Linked DNA regions of Homo sapiens: regions 2, 3, 4 and 5 are each linked to region 1. The links are contacts of gene promoters, found by promoter capture Hi-C in blood cells and fetal thymus (Javierre and others, 2016). All regions are on one chromosome and are shown on one strand. The core of a region is centred on a gene start or on the middle of the fragment in contact, and the rest is flanking DNA. Distances in the headings are between cores, read along the strand shown.

The links. Contacts are between HindIII fragments. The CHiCAGO score rates a contact against its expected background, and 5 or more counts as called.
Region 2: a contact is called between a fragment that was not itself captured here and the fragment with the promoter of ANGPT2 in region 1, in 3 of 17 cell types (erythroblasts, fetal thymus and megakaryocytes). The highest score is 13.7, in erythroblasts.
Region 3: a contact is called between a fragment that was not itself captured here and the fragment with the promoter of ANGPT2 in region 1, in 1 of 17 cell types (neutrophils). The highest score is 5.6, in neutrophils.
Region 4: a contact is called between a fragment that was not itself captured here and the fragment with the promoter of ANGPT2 in region 1, in 1 of 17 cell types (total CD8 T cells). The highest score is 5.6, in total CD8 T cells.
Region 5: a contact is called between a fragment that was not itself captured here and the fragment with the promoter of ANGPT2 in region 1, in 5 of 17 cell types (total CD4 T cells, total B cells, fetal thymus and 2 more). The highest score is 6.3, in total CD4 T cells.

Annotation. Positions count from the first base shown.
Region 1 is chr8:6,561,800-6,564,499 of GRCh38, forward strand. ANGPT2 (angiopoietin 2) reads right to left here and starts at 1,446. Exons shown (of 9, transcript NM_001118887.2): 1 at 848-1,446. The coding sequence starts at 1,135. The region is part of intron 12 of MCPH1 (microcephalin 1); the gene reads left to right. RefSeq lists enhancers at 263-788, 789-1,315. The HindIII fragment of the contact is 4,979 bases long and covers 1-2,700 here.
Region 2 is chr8:6,833,493-6,836,192 of GRCh38, forward strand. XKR5 (XK related 5) reads right to left here and starts at 2,032. Exons shown (of 7, transcript NM_207411.5): 1 at 1,944-2,032. The coding sequence starts at 2,001. It overlaps GS1-24F4.2 (a long non-coding RNA gene), which reads left to right and starts at 2,062. Exons shown (of 3, transcript NR_045217.1): 1 at 2,062-2,125; 2 at 2,474-2,700. RefSeq lists an enhancer at 414-1,282. The HindIII fragment of the contact is 367 bases long and covers 1,212-1,578 here.
Region 3 is chr8:6,267,868-6,270,567 of GRCh38, forward strand. No RefSeq gene overlaps it. Among named protein-coding and RNA genes, the nearest start is that of MCPH1-DT, 140 kb to the right of the region's middle. The HindIII fragment of the contact is 4,880 bases long and covers 1-2,700 here.
Region 4 is chr8:6,244,839-6,247,538 of GRCh38, forward strand. No RefSeq gene overlaps it. Among named protein-coding and RNA genes, the nearest start is that of MCPH1-DT, 160 kb to the right of the region's middle. The HindIII fragment of the contact is 6,089 bases long and covers 1-2,700 here.
Region 5 is chr8:6,860,491-6,863,190 of GRCh38, forward strand. No RefSeq gene overlaps it. Among named protein-coding and RNA genes, the nearest start is that of DEFB1, 16 kb to the right of the region's middle. The HindIII fragment of the contact is 4,956 bases long and covers 1-2,700 here.

The DNA of each region.
Region 1 (2,700 bases), core at 196-2,695:
AAGAAAAACAGAGCTTTCAATATCCTATTTTGGTTACGTCTCCATAAAAACTCTAGGAAACAGTGGGATCATCTGTGAAACAGTGGAATCACCCCAAGAACAAACTGTCAGACAGACCGTCCTGTCGTGGCATGACTTGAACATAACCGTCCCACGTGGGGACGCATTCCGCACCGGTTGCTGGAACTGACGGGGGCTGCAGTGCTGAATACCTCTGGGACGCTTGGGAACTGTGCCCCTGTTTACAGACGGCAAGCCCTTAGTGGTAGGGCCCTGAGATTCTGAGAAACATAAGGTCTGCTTTATTTAATTTCCTCTCGTTTACCAAGAGTCACAACCTATTTTAGTAAATAAATTCAGGAAATTGGTAAAGCACTTTACTCCATCCGTTATGCCTCGGTCATCAGCATGGTTGTCACGGTCTCTCTGGCTCACGGGCTGCTGCGGCTCACAGCCTTCCCTCACTTGCCTGCAACCAGCTGAGAGCCTCCCTGGTGATGGGTGTTACTGAGCTTAAACGATGTAAACAAACAGAACGGCACACAAGTTGTGCAGGGAAGTATATTTCCTCTACCTTGTTAATAAAGATTTCTAACTTTAGAGATTTTCTGTATTGACTCTGGCATTCTTTCCAAATAATTATTTTCACCCCGGGGACTACCCACACACCCTGGGATAGAATAAAAGAAATTATCTTTCATTTGAGGGTACCAGCAACCCGCTCTCCAGCTCTAATCCTCTTCATCCTCCTTCTTTTTTTTTTTTTTTTTTTGGTTGTTAAAACCTGAGCTGCTGCCAAGCTGATCTTAATAGCATGTTCACAAAGACAGATGGATTTTTTTCCTACCTTCATTAGCCACTGAGTGTTGTTTTCCATGATGTTCTCCAGCACTTGCAGCCTCTGCACCGAGTCATCGTATTCGAGCGGCGCGTCCCTCTGCACAGCATTGGACACGTAGGGGCTGGAGGAAGAGCGGCAGTTGTCCATCTCTGGCAGGAGGAAAGTGTAGCTGCAGGACCCATGCTGGACCTGATATTGCTTCTTTCCTATGCTGTCCATGCTCTTCCGAAAGTTGTTATAGGCTGCGGCCAAGACAAGATCACAGCTCAGAGTAAAGAAAACAATCTGCCACATTCTTTCTTCAGTAATAAACCAGCAGCTTAGCAAACTTGAGGGCAAACACACGTCCAGAGTCCCGAGCTGCTGCCGTCTAAAACGCAGGGCTGCTACGCTGCCATGGCTGGGTCCGTCAATGAAAGTCTTCTCTTTCCTCTTTTTCCAGTAGCAAACCTGGTTTTTACTGCTGTGTTCTCTCCAGGCATGCAGTAAACTGTCAGATTGCAGTGGGAAGAACAGTCCTGCTCACTTGGGAGGGCTGTGTCAGCTTTTACAGAGCAGCTTTCACGGTCCTTTGTTCCTCTCTCCCCAGATCCTACAGTGTCAGTATCCGAATCAATCACTTTCCTTTCCTTATATGATAAGTTGATAAGAGCAGCCAGACATGTGTAGTGGGCTGCTCCGCCCTCCTGGCTTAGCCGTTATCTTCCTGTAGGGGGTCACTAGCCAGGCAACAGGAAAAATCAGAGCAGAATGCCTGCCCTCCAACCAGGACCCATGCTGCAGAAACCCTCTGGGAAAAACCGATCTGTTACAGGACCCCTGGGCATTTCCTAGGCACCACCCCAATTAAGTATTTCCTAGAGAGAGCAGTTGATCTCTTTTGTCTGAAACTGATTTTTGCCGTGCTAAGCTGGCAAAATATCTGAGGTAATAACTTTAATGTTGAAGTACAATGAAAGTTCCTGTTTTTTCCTTTAGGAATAAAAATATTACAAATAGGTCAGGACTTCGGTTTATTTTTGTTATTACAAATAAAGAGGAAGAAGTTTGGCTCCTGTAAACGTGTGCCTTTTCAGAGGGAAAAATAGATTCATTGATTTTAGTTGATTCTTGAACCACTAGCCAAGTTACAAAAGATTTTCATTTCCGAACAGTTGGATAGAAAGATCTGTTATTAAGTCACGTTAGAAACATCAGTTTCTGAGCTCTGACCTTTATTCTTTAAAAAAACTCCACTTGGATATTCACTCTAAAAATACACTGTACTGATTAAGTTCATTACATTACAATAGAGAAATTAGAATTTAAGTGCCTGTGTAGAAAGAGGAATACAAACTTTTTTTTTTTTTTTTTTTTTTTGAGACGGAGTCTCGCTCTGTCGACCAGGCTAGAGTGCAGTGGGGCAATGTTGGCTCACTGCAACCTCCGCCTTCCGGGTTCAAGTGATTCTCTTGCCTCAGGCTCCTGAGCAGCTGGGATTACAGGCAAACGCCACCACACCCGGCTAATTTTTGTATTTTTAGTAGAGACAGGGTTTCACCATGTTAGGCTGGTCTCAAACTCATGACCTTGTGATCGACTCGCCTTTGGCCTCCCAAAGTGCTGAGATTACAGGTGTGAGTCACCATGCCTGGCCCACAAACTTCTTTATTGTGTCAGAATTTGTTGACATCTCAGCATTTTGTAACACATTATCAATTACATTAGTCCCCCTTGGTATTAGACTCGGGCAAGTCACTTCCCTGTTTTAATTAAGCTCTAATGTCCTCATCTGTGCAATTCAAGGGGTGCACTCACAAGATTTTTCACCTTCAATCCTATGGCTCTGTAAGTTCTGCAAGTCACTTCCTTTAACAACT
Region 2 (2,700 bases), core at 145-2,644, 270 kb after region 1:
GGCCGAGGTGGGCAGATTGCTCGACGTCAGGAGTTCAAGACCAGTCTGGGCCTCTCTACTAAAAATACAAAAATGAGCAAGTTTGCTGGCTGCGTGCCTGTAATACCAGCTACTCGGGATGGATGAGGCACCAGAATGGCTTCAACTCAGGAGGCGGAGTTTGCAGTGAGTCGAGATTGGGCCACTGCATTCCAGCCTGGGCCACAGAGCAAGACTCTTGTCTCAAAACAAAACAAAACAGTAACCAACCAACACAGTGTCCCCATCACCAGCAAGAGTCTCCTAGGAGCAGGCTGGGAGCCAGCAGAGCCTCTGGCAACAGGGACAGGCATTCACTAAATGACATTGTCAGGGCTTTCCAGAGCTGTTGGGCAATATACGACATGTGTGAAGCGCCTAGCATCTTGTGCATCCTCGAGAACGATGAAACCTCCTCTCTGGTTTGTTTGCTTGTTTGTTTTTGATGGTGGTTACGCAGTGGAGAGAGAATGTGCACTCCGCAGTCAGTAACTCCGCACTACGAAACCGTTAGTCCCTGTGGGGTCACAGCTCTCTCTGTGGGGTCCCTTTTCTCCTACTTTCACATGGGGAACTCCCTGGCCTGGAACTCTGGGCCTCCCCAATACTCCTAGCACGGCCTCCTCAGGGTTGTCTGAGGCTGATCTTGGAGGCGGTGCGCTGGTAGAGGCACCGCACACAGGCATCGTTTCACACAACTGTTACTTAGGTTTTCCAATAGTAAAGTTCTAAGTGGATGAATGAACACAAGCCGCGGATTTTAGGGAAACTGGGAAAACTGCCCTGAGGTACAGCTGCAGACGCTGCAGCTCTAGACCGCGGGGTCCGGGCTCAGGCAGCCCTTAGCGCCCAGGCTGGGTCCGGCTGTCACCACCCCGAGCGTCCTGCGGCAGCCTCCCTTGCACGAAAAGCCTTCGGTGCTGCAGGGCTGGGGAATGCTGACACCCAGTCCGTGCCCAGCTGGAGGGCAAGGGAGGACACCTGGGGTGGGTGCCGACCCCCGCAGGTCCTGTCTCAGCCCTTCCAGTCCGGGGCGCGGAGCCAGGGCGCTTGCGCGTCCTCCGTGTGCGTCCTGCTCGGCGCGCCTCGGAAGCAGCGGGACCTGCGGGGACGCCCGCGAACTCAGGGAAAAGTCCCAAGGCGGCGTTCCCAGGGTACCCCCTCTTCCACCCCAGGGACTCTGCCCGGGAAAAAGCTTCCGCAGGGAGCCCGGCGGAAGTGGGCGGAGACGCTCCTCCCGGCACTGAAGGAGTTACGCGTTCAAACCAGAAGGGCGCGAAAAATGGGGCCATCTTGCTCCGCCGCGGCTGGCGGGCTCTGGGTTCCCCCTGCGACGGAGGTGGCCTCGAAGGGCCGCGTCCCGCCCCGTCCTAAACCCCGAAGCGGAGTCGCCGTCCTACAGGGCCGCGTGGATGCGGAGCCCTGTCCCCCTCCCCCCGCCACCCCTTCTGCGAGCGGCCTCCAAGTCGCAGGGTCCCCCTGGACGGCCGGGGGTCGGGGGAGAGCCCGGGCGCCCCCAGACTTGCGCTCAGCACATCTTGGCATCGCAGCACTTTGCAAAGCTTGTGATGGAAGGAAGGGCGGATACATCTCCCCTGCTTCTGCGAGGGGATCTTGCATGCGTGGGGCGGGGGGATCGTGCATGGGCGGGAGGAAGTCAAGCACCAGTCGGGAGGGGGGGGAACCGAGCATGGGTGGAGGAAAATCATGCATCCTTGGGGGGATGGTGCATGCGTGGGCATCTACTAAGGACGGGAGGACGTGCTCTGCAGGTGGGATGGCCACCACCGTGCGTCACCGGCGCGCAGTGCTGGGCGCAGGCTGGGGCAGTGCCCGCCCGGGCATAGGCAGCCTGTGCGGCTCCCGGCGCCGGGGTGGGGTTAGGGGCTGCAGGGGTGAGCACAGCCTCGGGCTGCCGCACTCACGCGCGCTCTGCTCGGCCGCCTGCAGCAGGGCCGAGAGCCCCAGGAGCCTCGCGTGCATCTTCCGTGCCGACCCCGCAGCCTGCGCCCGCCCCTTCCCCTGCACGCGGCCCCGCGTCGGGGAGGTTTCCGGCCCGGGGCCCGACTGCGGGTGGCATTTCTGGCTAAGCCGTTAGGCGCGAATTGTATGTCTGGTTTATTCGTAGTGGCCAGCAGGGGAGGGAGGGAGGATGCTTGGGGTTTCTGGCTTCCAGGGTGGGTGGGGACGAGGTGGTGGAGTCCAGCTCAGGTCCGGGCTCCTGATAAGGGCAGAAGCGGGTTCTGCGCTGCCCCCAACCCTGTAACCGCCAGGAAAGCGCTTGGTGAGCGTCGGGACTGCGCAGGTTCCTCGGGAGGTGGCTAAACTGGCCACCGCCTCTGGGGCCGCCTAAAGCAAGTCCGTTAACCACTAGTCAGGGAGGAATACTGTGTTTGAGTAAATATATGTAGAGTTGGGTTAGAATCATTGATTGGGTCTTTTTGAAATCTTACAGTTCTGTGTCCAGAAAACACAGGGCACGTTACCCGGTATCGTGGTCTACACCTCGCCCACAAATCCATCCCAGGCTGTATCCTCATGGAAGCTTTTTCCAGATGTGCTTGAGGGTTAAGATCGCAATGTGCAAGAAGAAAAAGTGCACATTGGAAAACCTTCTCTTCGGAGATATCTATATCTATATTTATATATATTTACAGATATGGAGATATATACACACACGTA
Region 3 (2,700 bases), core at 198-2,697, 290 kb before region 1:
AGCCGAGATCACGCCACTCCACTTTAGCCTGGGCGACAGAGCGAGACTCCGTCTCAAAAAAAAAAAAAAAAAATCCTTAACACAATATTAACAAAATGAAGCTAGCAATATATGAAAAGAAAAATATACCATGACCACCATGACCAAGTGATATTTATCCTACGAATGAAAATTGGTTTGATATTTTAAAATCAAGCAATATAATTTACTATATTCATAGACTAAATTGCAAAAAAAAAGTGATTATATTAATAAATGTGTGAAAAGCACTGATAAATGTTGATATCCACTGATGATTAAAAACTCTCACTAAACTAGGAATATGAAAGAACAATCCAGAATTTTGACTGACTACTTACTGGTAATTGTCTATGTTCTACTACATCAAAAACTTAAATAAGGAAGCATAAGTAAACTACAAGTGTAATCATAAAACTTTGTTTTAAAGAAAGAATTCTTCATTGACCATCTGGCAGATTATTTTTTCTTTCCTTTAAAAACTTCCAAATCCTCTCAAATCTTTTTTAAATCACATGAGAGTCCTCAAAGACAACAGACAGCATGCAATAGACCATAAGTATGGGGCTCTGCTGGCCGACTATTTTGCAAAGCTGTCATTTATCTTTTCCTTCTGTGATCCTCACATCGTCTTTTTGTGTCATTGTGGTTTGGTTTTCACTCATTTGAGGTTAAAAATGCTGAGGGATTTTGTTTTCATTTTGAAGTATAAGAGACATTTATAGCTTTCTAAAAAAGACACCTGGTGACAATCAGGAGGTTTTCTTTAAAATTCTTTAATCAGGCCAGGCGCAGTGGCTCAGGCCTGTAATCCCAGCACTTTGGAAGGCCAAAGCGGGCAGATCATGAGGTCAGGAGATGGACACCATCCTGGCTAACTCGGTGAAACCCCATCTCTACTAAAAATACAAAAACAAAATCAGCCAGGCGTGGAGGCGGGCGCCTGTAGTCCCAGCTACTGGGGAGGCTGAGGCAGGAGAATGGCGTGAACCCAGGAGGCAGAGCTTGCAGTGAGCCAAGATGGCGCCACCGCACTCCAGCCTGGGTGACAGAGCAAGACTCCTTCTTAAAAAAAAAAAAAAAAAAAAAAAATCTTTAATCAGCTCAGAGAGTTAATTAGTCACTTGGTGACCCCACCCCTGTGGGTAAAGTAGGCCCACCAAGCATATATCATTAGCATATATTCTATTTCATTCAAAAACAATACTGATAGAGGAAACAATTATTCAGATATCTTAATTAACTCATCCCAGTGCTCCGATTTAAACACCAGATTATCACCTGGTACTTACACAGCAATTCAATTTTAATCTAGATAGGTATAAAAGTATACATAAAATAGAGGTAAACATACACATACACAATTAGGACATAGTTTTGAAATATTAATCAGACGATTTTTACTTTTCCACCATTTAAAGTAGACAATAATGGGAGGCCAAAGTGGGAGGATCACTTGAGGCCGGGAGTTCAAGACCAGCCTGGAAATCAGTGAGACTCCAGACCTCCATCTCTAAAAAATAAACAAATAAAAAGATAAAATGAAGTAGGCAATGAGGCTAGAGGCTTTGCCAAGAACACCCCCCAAAAATAAAAAGGGTGCAAAGTCTTGCATACAAGTATCATATATTGGTGTATTTCTTCTTCCCTCTATTTTCTCTCCATTTTTCTTCCAGGGCCTCAAAAAAATTTCCCTCTGGGCCCGGCACAGCGGCTCATATCTGTAATCCCAGCACTTTGGGAGGCCGAGGTCGGTGGATCACTTGAGGTCAGGAGTTCAATACTAGCCTGGCCAACACGGCAAAACCCCATTTCTACTAAAAATACAAAATCAGCTGGGCATGATGGAGCACACCTATAATCCCAGTTACTCAGGAGGCTAAGGTGGGAGAATCGCTTGAACCTGGGAGGCAGAGATTGCAGTGAGCTGAGATCCTGCCACTGCACTCCACCCTGGGCAACAGGATGAGACTAAAAAAATCTTCCTCTGGAGCTGCACTAGGGCTCCTCCCAAATTCTAGTTACTTTATTAGGCATTCATTTAACAAACTCGATCAGGTGCCTGCCATGGGCCAGGTACTGGGCTACAGAAGCAGACAAAACAAAGTCGCCTACCTTTTTGGAGTTTGCAGTCTAGATGAGCAACACATACAAGAGCCAGATAGGAAAGCATTAGGCTGCCGGGCGCGGCGGCTCAGGCCTCTAATCCCAGCACTTTGGGAGGCCGAGGTGGGCGGATCACGAGGTCAGGAGATCGAGACCATCCTGGCCAACATGGTGAAACCCCGTCTCTACTAAAAATACAAAAGTTAGCTGGGCACGGTGGCGCGTGCCTGTAGTCCCAGCTACTGGAGGCTGAGGCAGGAGAATCGCTTGAACCTGGGAGGTGGAGGTTGCAGTGAGCCGAGATCGCGCCACTGCACTCCAGCCTGGCAATAGAGCGAGACTCTGTCTCAAAAAAAGAAAAAGAAAAAAAAGAAAGCCTAAGGCATGTCATATGGTGCAAAGTACTGCAGAGAAAAATAAAGGAGAAAAGAGCACCGGAAAGAGGTGGGTGCAACTTTAAAGAGAACGGTCATGGAAGGCCTCCCTGAAAGAGTCACGTTTGACCAACAACAGGAAGGAGATGAGCGATGGGGCCATGTGGATGTCAAGGAAGAGAACAGACTACGCAACAAGAAC
Region 4 (2,700 bases), core at 19-2,518, 320 kb before region 1:
AGCCAAGATCCTGCCATTGCACTCTAGCCTGGGCAACAAGTGTGAAACTCTGTCTCAAAAAAAAAAAAAAAAAGAAAGAAAGAAAGAAAAAGGCCACGCGCAGTGGCTCACACCTGTAATCCCAGAATTTTGGGAGGCCAAGAAGGGCAGATCACTAGGTCAGGAGATCAAGACCATCCTGGCTAACACGGTGAAACCCCCTCTCTACTAAAAACACAAAAAATTAGCCAGGCATGGTGGCTGGCACCTGTAGTCCCAGCTACTCGGGAGGGTGAAGCAGGAGAATGCTATAAACCCGGGAGGCAGAGCTTGCATTGAGCCGAGATCGCCACTGCACTCCAGCCTGGGCAACAGAGCAAGACTCCGTCTCAAAAAAAATAATAATTAAAAGAAAAGAATGTTCATAGCAGCACTATTCCTAACAGTCCCAATTGAGAAACAAGCCAAATCATCAACAATAAAATAAATACAACACAGACAGCCATGAAGTCTGATAAACTGCAGCTACCTTTAGCAACATGATGAATCTCATAAATATAAAGAGAAAGAAGGTGTATTCAAGAACACATAGTGTACAGTTAAATTTATATAAAATTCAAAAACAGGCAAAGAAGTCAAGACCTACCCACCTTTGAGAAAGAAGAAAGGGTGCTGATGGAGAAGTGGTAAAAGACAGAGGTAGTGGGATCCTCAGGGGCTGGCTGTGTCTCTTGACTGCTGTGGGAAATTCATAAGCATCTTCTCTATCATAATTTATTAAGCTGCACATTTCATACTATTTATTGTTTTGTGTGTCACTGAGTCCAAACTCATTCTGCTTGCTGCACAAAGGCCAGTAAGTTGAGAGACAAGGAGTTGGAGCAAAGAAAGCCACTTTTTTGTTTGTTTTTTGTTTTTTGTTTTTTTGAGACGGAGTCTTGTGTCACCAGGCTGAAGTGCAGTGGCGCAATCTTGGCTCACTGCAACCTCCGATTCCCTGGTTCAAGCGATTCTCCTGCCTCAGCCTCCCAAGTACCTGGGATTACAGGCATGCACCACCGTGCCCAGCTATTTTTTTGTATTTTTAGTAGAGACGGGGCTTTCACCATGTTGGCCAGCATGGTCTCAATCTCCTGACCTTGTGATCCACCCGCCTCAGCCTCCCAAAGTGCTGGGATTACAGGCATGAGCCACTGCACCCGGCCAGAAAACCACTTTATTAGGACAGCCAGCAAGCCAAGAAGATGGTGGACTAATGCCCTGAAGAACCAGCTCAAAGTTAAGTGGGCTTTGCCTTGTCTTTTATCTTTAGGTAAGGGGGAAGGGGGGTTGACAACGACAGGTATCTGGGCACCAACAAGGGTCCTCGGTAATGATCTCTCATATGGTGATAGCCAAACCTCCTCGCTCCCATAAATCTTCAACAAAACAGTTAGTTGCTTACAGTCCCCATTCATCCACATGATTGCTGTTTTTGAGTTTTATCTCAGTGCTCTAAAATTATCCTAGCCTATGGACAGGAATGGGCAGAGGTCCCTTAAACAAAACTGGTGTTAGTTATGCGGTTTCACTGTCACATGGGTATTCAATATCAATTAAAGCATCTTTGAATAAAAGGGCACCTGCTTCATGCCCTCTGTTCCTTCTTCATGTTCCTCTGCCCTGATGCCTGACGTGCTCATGGGCCAGCTGGTGCCTTAGTTACCATGCTGGACCATGAGCACAAGTTCTGGGCATCATATACATGAGCTAGAAAGAGCCAAGATCCCTGAGGCCAACATGCTTTCCACAGACTTCCTGCCTCTGGATGTTTATGTGGGAGAAATAAACCTTTACCTGCGGTAAGACACCATAGTTTGGGTCAATGGAACACAAATCCTATCTTCACTGATACAAAAAGCCAGATCACAAGTCTAAAGCTCACAGCCGTCTACACCCATCTTTTTCCACAACCCTCTCAGAGTCTTACACTGTTACACCAAATTCTGGAAATTTCGTGTCAAAGAAAAAGCAATCAAATCCATTTATGTAAAAGTGAATATTGGGGCAGTGCCAAAAAAACTTTAATTGGAAACTCTCTGATTTGTTACACCTTAAAAAAATCAAACAGTGTTTTATGGCATTGATTTTTCTCTTTTTCAGCTATGGCAGCTGTTGCTTTGTAAAACTGGAATGTGACCTTTTCCTTCTTCCCACATGATTTACTCACTCCTGCATGTTAATACTTGGCAAATGATTTTTTCCTGAATATGCAGATATTTCTAAGCACTTTATTTGGTTTTTCCCATGACAATTTCAGCGTACACTTAATGTCATTTGGAATATTTTACATGGAAATAAAGAGAGGAAACGGAAGGAAATATGCGAAGATGTGATTCACTAGCTTAAAAAGCCATTTCCTTGGTAAAGGGTCACTCAAAATGTTTCACGAGGGAAATATACGGCCACATAATCAAACAGAATAAAGCAGAAACTCAGTGCAAGAGCTGTCCACTGGCATAAGCAGCTCAAAGACGAGACCTTAACTGGAACTTTGGAGCTCAGGCATGCTTCATCTGAGAAAGTCACAAGTCATTTTATAACATCCAGTTTTCTAATTTTCAGCTAACTTATGAGTTTCTTGGTTGTTACTTTTAGTCAGAATCTAATCCAAATAGTATTTTTCATGACCTCCACTGAGTTCTCCAGGGCAGGGTTCTCTATCCTTACCCACTTTGGCCC
Region 5 (2,700 bases), core at 124-2,623, 300 kb after region 1:
GCAAAGACTGGAGTTTTGTTGTTACTGAAATCAGTCTCCCTGGCGTTTGGGATCAGAGATTTTAAGGATAATTTAGCAGGTATGGACTCAGAAAGTGGGGAGTGCTGACTGGTCAGGTTGAAGATGAAATGACAGGGGGTCAAAGTGAGTTTTTGCTGACTTCTGTTCCTGGGTGGGATCACAGAACTGGTTGAGCCAGATTTTCAGTCTGGGTGGTGTCATCTGCTGCACCGGAATATAGGATCTGCAAAATACTTCAAGCACTGATCTTAGGTTTTACTATAGTGACGTTATTCCCAGGAGCAATTGGGAGAGGTCCAGACTCTTGTAGCCAGAGGCTGCATGGTCCCTAAATCATGATATCTAACTGTGTAGCTAATTTGTTCCTACAAAGGCAGACTGGTCGCCAGGCAAGAAGGAGTTTTTCTGATATCTAATTTTGTAGCTAATTTGTTAGTCCTACGAAGGCAGACTGGTCCCCAGGCAAAAAGGGGTTTTTTTGGGGGAAAGGGCTAGTATCCATTTTGTTTCAGAGTTTAAACTATAAACTAAATTCCTTCCCAAGGCTAGCTCGGTTTAGATGGGGTGGGGGAATGAACAAAGACAGTTTAGACGTTAGAAGGAAGATGGGGGTCCGGGGGTCTGTTAGGTCTGATCTTTCACTGATATAATTTCCTCAGTTATAATTTTGCAAAGGCGGTTTCGGTCCTGCCTCTCATTACAGGGCCACTTGTTGAGTAAAAGGGTCTCAAAAGATAAAGATATTGGCTTTGATGGGGGTGATGGAGGAGAGAGGATGAGCCTGACGTCATGTCCCATGCCAGTGAGTGGGGCGTCAGGAAAAAGAAGGAGATTCTTTAACAATGGAAAGCTGCTAAAAATCTATGGAATTGGACTGAGAGACCATTAGCAGTTTTTGGAAGAAGAAACCACTTCAGGTTTGCTCCCTGGGAAAGAAAAATATCTTGGGCCCCCAAAACTCACTAAGCTAAAAGGAAAACTCAAGCTGGAAACCGCTTAGGGCCAACCTGCCTCTCATTCTATTCAACCTACCTCCCATTCTATTCAACCTACCTCCCATTCTATTCAACCTACCTCCCATTCTATTCAACCTGCCTCCCATTCTATTCAACCTGCCTCCCATTCTATTCAACCTGCCTCCCATTCTAGTCAAAGTTATCTCCCTGCTCATTGAGATGAATGCATATCTGATTGCCTCTTTTGGAAAAGCTAATCAGAAACTCGAAATAAGGCAAGTTTGTATTTCACCTATCTGTGACCTGGAAGCCCCTCCCTGCTTCAAGTCTTCCTGGCTTTCCTTCAAATTGTCCTATCTTTCCAGACCGAACCAATGTACTTTTCACATATATTGATTGATGTCTTATGTCTGCCTAAAATGTGTAAAACCAAACTGTGCTCCAACCACCTTGGGCACATGACGTCAGGACTTCCTGAGGCTGTGTCACGGGTGCGCATCCTCCACCTTGACAAACTTTCTAAATTAACTGAAACCTGTCTCAGATTTTGGGGGTTCCCATACCTAACGAGTCACATCAGTCAAATCAGTTATAACACTTTGCCGAGTAAGTTCCCATAAACGTTTTATTACCATGTTTGCCATAATTTTAAGGGAGAAAAACAAGGGCCCGAGAGTTTTAAGTCCTTGTCCAGGTAGACACGCAGGTGGGTGGTGGCAGAGGAACTGGACCCAAGGCCTTCGCCTTCACCTCTCTGGATGGTTTCTAGTCTGTTCAGCTTCAACTGTGACATCCTTTCTGCTCCAAAGCCTTTCAAGTGTCCAGTTGTACCTGACTTCTGTCTTCTTGTACATATATTCTGATTCAGCCCTGAGCCATACTCTAGGCCACAGTTGGAGGCTCTTCAATCCACAGAAAGAGCAAAACCACCTTATGAGAGATGGAGGCAGATGGAGGCAGCCAAGGAAACCATGTGTGGATGGGCCAGTCAGGCTCCTTCACGCTGGCCGGCTGGACGAGGTGACTCAGGTGTCCCATCCATGACACCTCCAAGAGCAAGATGGAGAATGAGGAAGGAGACTGAGATGAGCTGAGTTCTGATTGTATGTCAGGGGCTGGCTGGGCTGGATGAGTGCCACATAAAGGTTATCTCACTGAGTCCTCACACCTGTCCGGGGGGGTCCATTTATTCTACTCACTTTCATACACCCAAGAATGCAAGAATCAGAGAAGTTGTGCAGCTTGTCCAAAGGCCCAGGTCTGTCTGACTTGAGAGTCAGCCTGTGGTTTCCTGCCCCACGTGGGGTTCACGGTGACCTGCTTTGGTGCTGGGTCATAGTCGCTGGATGAGAGATTCTCTAGTAGCTGGAGGAAGGGGATCTAAGGGGGGCTGGGCTCACAGAACATGGGGAGGTGAGGAAAAACACACTAGAAGCTCTGGCTCAGGTGGAGGCAGGAACGCTCTGGGGTGAAATGTGTTGTCAACCATGGGATGACGGCTGCCCCGGGACAGGACATGTCTAATCACACTCTGCCCTGGTTTCTGCAAGAGTCACTGGGCTGGTTACGAAGCTATTGTTTCTCAGCCCCAAGTTCCCTACTCAGTACCTGCTTTGCGGTGGGGCGGATCTGGGAAGGTCCTGCTCAGCTCTGCCCACAGGGCAGGGAGCGGGTAGGGAGGCTGGTGGGGAGTGGGGGAGGCTGGTGGGGAGTGGGGGAGGCT